2 separate regions of the Homo sapiens genome follow, and region 2 is linked to region 1. Evidence: promoter capture Hi-C in human tissues and cell types (Jung and others, 2019). All regions are on one chromosome and are shown on one strand. The core of a region is centred on a gene start or on the middle of the fragment in contact, and the rest is flanking DNA. Distances in the headings are between cores, read along the strand shown.

Region 1 (2,773 bases), core at 217-2,716:
ATTAACCCATTTGGAAGAAAGGTTAAGCTAAATAGCTCTCTAATCCTGCGGTTTCAAAAGATAGCAAGTAGGGTTTCTGGAATCTTTAGATACTGTAAGGCAAGCACAGGGGATGGGGCACGGGAAAGGAGAGGCCATAGACTGAGGGAGGCACTGATACTTATAGAGCCCCTACCTGTTTCATACCCTTCATTCCGATCCATCCTAGGCCAAGCCCATTTTGCCCAGAGGGTCCCCATCTGGATTCAGATAGGTTAAGTGTTTTGCCCAAGGTCACAAAAAAGGTGCAAAGAAAGTGTTTTTCTTTGTGCAACAGGTACAGTCCTTTCCCTTCCAAAAGATAATGGCTGCTCCTGGCTAGAGAAAGTTCAGTCCCGGCAGGCAGGAAGCCCTAGCCACCTAGGCGTCGCGCGGTGGAGGTCACACGCCTGCTCCGGGACTGGACAAACAGCAGGGTTTTAAGGCGCGGCGTCCCCACTCCCAGGCGAGTTTGTGCCAGCAGGGTGTGAAAAGGTCAGGCTCGGGTGGGGGTCAACGAGCCGCTTCCCATCCCGAGGGCCCCACCCGTGAGCCCGGGTGGGCCGCGCCGCCATCGGGGCGGGGACCACGCGGGCCTGCCTGGTAACAGGGGGACTGAGGCTTAATCCCATCAGGGCGCCTCCGCCCTGGGAAGACGAGCGGAGGGGGGGCGCAGGCCAGGCCGAGAGGACGTGTCCGGAGCCTCCGCGTCCGAGGGGCCCCGCGCGCCGCCCCTCTCACGCCCCCCGAACCACCGCGCTGTCCTCCGGGCTCCCCTCGACCAGGGTTCCGTCTCGCTCGCCGCCCTTGCTTCCCACTTCCACCTCCGGGGCCTCCAACCCGCACAAATGTCCAGACCCTAGCAGCTCCAGGCTGAGTAACCCAGATCTCCAGCGATCCCTCAGCTCCTAGCCACGGGATCTCTCTGAATCCATTCCCAAGGCTCAGGCTGGCATGGGAGGAGATTGATCCTCTCGCTCCCAGTCTCGAATCACCCTTCGCCGTCACCCCTGACTGGGGATCCAGTGGGACCCCAGGCCTCCAGCGCCCGATCCCCTCCAGGGATCGACTCCCAAGTCGCCAACCAGGTGGCACGTGATCCATTGGTTGCCCTGTGCGGGATCTTCCCGCGGGATCCACTCTCAAGTCTCGGGAGACGGATTCCCCGGCTCCCAAACCGGGATCCTCCCTCCCTGCAGACCCGGAGTCTGGGGAAATCCTCCGGCTCCCCGCCTCTTCCCCGGCCAACTTTGCCAACTTTTCTCCCGGGGCCTCGGCCGGGCAGAAACTTGGCGGCCCTCGCCAGCCGCCGTCACCCCCAGCTACCTCGTCGGCCGGGGACAGGAGGCGGCCAGCCGGCCCCCACTGCCCGCAGCCGCTGCGCAACCTACCGTGGAGCCACCGCCAGCCCGCGCCGCGCCGCCACCTGCCCGCAGCCCGCGGCACCTGCCCTGGGAGCCCGCAGCCCCGCGCAGCCTAGCCTGCTGGGGGCGGGGCCTCGAGCGGGGACGCGCCCCCGTCACCATGGGAACTGCCGCCGGCCGCGCCTGCGCGGAGGGGAGCAGAGCAGGCAGGACCCGAGTCCGCAGTGGCGCCTGGGCCTGGGACCTCTCCGGCGGGTCAGAGGTCACGACTCGCTTGGACACCCCTGCCGGAAGCGCTCCCGCCCCTCGAGGCCCGACCCCGCTCTGTCCAATTGGGAACTTTGCTCCGGGTACCCTCCCGCGTTCCCTGGATGTTCCCCAGTCACCAGCCAGGATCCCCCGCCACCGGCACCGACCCGCTGCCCAGCCGGCGACCCCGAGAGCCTAATGCAACCCAGGATTTCAGGAGGCGCTCCATAAATGTGGGCCCACTGACTTGCCTGGGCTGCTGGTGCCGGCCCGGGGGCGGGCAAGGTCTGTGCGCGGTGCTGGCGCCTCCTCGCGCCAAGCAAGGGCACTGCACCTGAGAGTTCGCTGGAGCGCCTACTGTGTGCGCATCCTCCTGCCATTATGTTGTGGGTGTGAGTTGTGGGGTAATGGGTACAGGAACTTGTGGACAAGTTGAGAGAATCGTAGGAAGTCGCCTCTGAAAGAGAAAATACCTGTTCTGTTATCCGTTACTCATTTCATTCAGCAGATCTTTATTAAGCACCTATTGCATGCTGGGTGCTGGAGAACCCAGTGGTGGGCAGCTGGCAAAATCCAGGCTGTTGTGCAGCTTACAGATATTCAAACAAATAATTTCACGAGTATATCAAATTGAATCTGTGACATGTGCTCCTATGGGAAATGTACAGAGCATGAATAACTGGAGGACCTAAAATCAATGTGCCTTTATTATAAGCAAGATAGACCTCAATAAAAAAAGAGAAAGAAAAGGACATCACAGGCTGCGCACGGTGGCTTGTAATCCCAGCATTTTGGGAGGCCGAGGCGGGTGGATCACCTGAGGTCATGAGTTTGAGACCAGCCTGGCCAACGTGGTGAAACCTCGTCACTACTAAAAATTACAAAAATTAGCTGGGCGTGGTGGCGGATGCCTGTGATCCCAGCTACTCGGGAGGCTAAGGCAGGAGAATGGCTTGAACCCGGGAGGTGGAGATTGCAGTGAGCCAAGAGCGCGCCACTGCACTCCAGCCTGGACGACAGAGCAAGACTCCATCTCAAAAAAAAAAAAAAGAAAAAGACATCACATTGTGTGGCTTCAGGAGGATTGGTGGGGAGACTTCTTGCCTCATTTTGCTCTTAAATTGTTGGGTGTGTGTAAGAAA
Region 2 (2,738 bases), core at 116-2,615, 390 kb after region 1:
GACCCAATCATGTGAGAGCTTCTTTTGGGTTCTCATTTTTATACAGTGACACAAGACCATATTCCATACAGAGACCAGTTTTCCAAAGATGGCTATTATATGCCAAAGCCAACAAAACAGATTTCAAACAGTCCCATCAGTGATTGGGTGGTCATGTTGAAGCCCCAAAAGCACAATGTCTGCTTGTGCAGAGCTCTACACCACATTCTCCCACCAAAACTTCTAAGAATTAAGTCATTTTGAATGTAGTGAAATGGGTTTGACCATTACTCTCTGTATTTGCTTGTATCATTTATAATTTGGGTCCATTTTTATAAAACTGGGGACATATTTTGGAGTATTGTTATTTTTCTCACTTATGCCAACAGCATTTTGACCAACATGCCATATCCTGCAGCTGATGCCCTATCCTGCAGCACTGGCCACCAGTGCTTGGCTTGCAGCTGTCGGAATGAGAAGGAGAACAAAAGCTCCCTGCCTTCCCAGCTTAACCTCAGATGCACACCCTCTGACCCGATAAGCACCATTTCAGGGACCTCATCCTGAGTTTCACATACACATATTTCCTCTTCTTCCTTTAAAAAAAAAAATATATATATATATACACACACACACACATATATATACATACATATATACATACATACACACATACACACACACACACACACACACACACACACACACACATATATGAGACAGGGTCTCACTGTGTTGCCCAGGGTGGTCCCAAACTCTTGGGATCAAGTGATCCCCCTGGCCCAGCCTCCCAAAGTGCTGGGATTACAGGCATGAGCCAATGTGCCTGGCCATATTTTGCATTTTCAAATGTCAAAAACAGTGCTAAGATAACAGGATACTTTAAAACTACTTGAGGGACCATAAAAGGGTATTTTGTATGGGGATGTTGTCGAGGATATCATCTAATAGTGTCTCCTGTATCTGAGTGCCAGGGAAATCCACACAATTGCTATTTTAACTTAAGAACACTATGCATTTTGGAACTGATGATCTTCCCTGCTTAATCTTACACTGGAATATACCTTTATTCAATGTACAGAGAGATTCAGGTTTACATTTCTGGATACTGACTGCTTGGCTTCATTTTACATTCTACCCCAGCTTACCTGCACCATGATCTATGCATCTACTTTTATCCTGCCATAGAATTTTTTTAATTTTAGAGATAGGGTCTTGCTCTGTCACCCAGGCTGGAGTGCAGTGGTGCGACCAGAGCTTAATGCAGCCTGAACTGCTGGGTGGGCTCAAGTGATCCTTTTTGCCTCAGCCTATGGAGTAGCTGGGACTACAGGCATAAGCCATCACATCCAGATAATATATTTTTTATTTTTGGAGATGGAGTCTTGCTCTGTCGCCCAGGCTGGAGTGCAGTGGCGCGATCTTGGCTCATTGCAAGCTCTGCCTCCTGGGTTCACGCCATTCTCCTGCCTCAGCCTCCCGAGTAGCTGGGACTACAGGCGCCCGCCACCACACCTGGCTAATTTTTTGTATTTTTTTTAGTAGAGACAGGGTTTCACCGTGTTAGCCAGGCTGGTCTCAATCTCCTGACCTCGTGATCTGCCCGCCTCAGCCTCCCAAAGTGCTGGGATTACAGGCGTGAGCCACAGTGCCCAGCCCCACATCCAGATAATTTTTAAACTTTTTTGCTTTTCAGAAGAGACAGGGTCTAACTATTTCTGAAAGAGGATAGAATAAAAAGTAAATACTAAAACCCCAAAACAGGGCAGGTGTGGCTTAGGCCTGTAATTCCAATACTTTGGGAGGCCAAGGTGGGAGGATCGCTTAAGTCCAGGAGTGCAAGACTAGCCTGGGCAACAGAGTGAGATCCTCTATTTATCTTTTCCGAATCGTTGTGGTGTGCTTTTGTGTGTGTGTGAGACTAGGTCTCACTCCGTCGCCCAGGCTGGAGTGCAGTGGCACTCCATAGCTCACTGCAGCCTTGACTTCCTGGGCTCAAGTAATCGTCCCAACTCAGCCTCCACCTGAATGGCTGGGACTACAGGCATGTGCCACCACATCCGTCTATTTTATTTTTTTTACAGACAAAGTCTTGTCATGTTGCCCAGGTTGGTCTTGAACCCCTGGGCTCAAGTGATCCTCCTGCCTCAGCCTCTCAAAGTGTTGGGATTATAGGAGTAGCCACCACATTTTGTCCCACCCCACTTTTATAACAGAAAATGTTATTGAACAAGCAAGGAAAAGTGCTAAGAGGATGTTCTCATTCCCAAAAGGCAGAATGACTGGATCTGGGAAGGACAGGCAAGCCTCACAGCCTGAGATGTGCTGAACAAACTAAACTGTGCTCAGAGTTCACCCACCACCAGCTTTAGCTACGCCACAGTCTGCTGGCTCTTATTCAATGTGCCTAGGTTTTGATAGACCCAGTGAGGCCTCTACATCCTGTTACAGGCTAAATTGTATCCCTCAAAAAAATTCATTGTTGAAGTCCTAATACCCAGCACCTCAGAATGTGATCATATTTAGAGACAAAAAATCTTTACAGGCCAGATGTGGTGGCTCATGCCTGTAATTCCAGGAGTTTGAGAGACTGAGGCAGCAGGATCACTTGTGGCCAGGAGTTTGAAACTGGCCTGAAAAACATATCAAGACTCCGTCTCTACAAAAAAATTTAAAAATTAGCCAGGTATGGTGGGGCACACTGGTAGTCCTGGATACTTAGAAGACTGAGGTGAAAAGATCTCTTGAGCCCAGAAGTC

The links. The method cuts DNA at HindIII sites, captures the fragments that hold promoters and counts their contacts. A contact is called where the count stands out against the background at its distance.
Region 2: a contact is called between a fragment that was not itself captured here and the fragment with the promoter of KIAA1671 in region 1, in 2 of the 25 tissues and cell types used here (bladder and heart right ventricle).

What each region holds. Positions count from the first base shown.
Region 1 is chr22:24,951,409-24,954,181 of GRCh38, reverse strand. It overlaps KIAA1671, which reads right to left and starts at 1,466. Exons shown (of 13, transcript NM_001145206.2): 1 at 1,410-1,466. RefSeq lists a silencer at 1,400-1,649. The HindIII fragment of the contact is 5,810 bases long and covers 1-2,773 here.
Region 2 is chr22:24,561,159-24,563,896 of GRCh38, reverse strand. All of the region lies in intron 2 of SNRPD3 (small nuclear ribonucleoprotein D3 polypeptide), which reads right to left. Among named protein-coding and RNA genes, the nearest start is that of SNRPD3, 6.5 kb to the right of the region's middle. RefSeq lists an enhancer at 1,483-1,984. The HindIII fragment of the contact is 9,525 bases long and covers 1-2,738 here.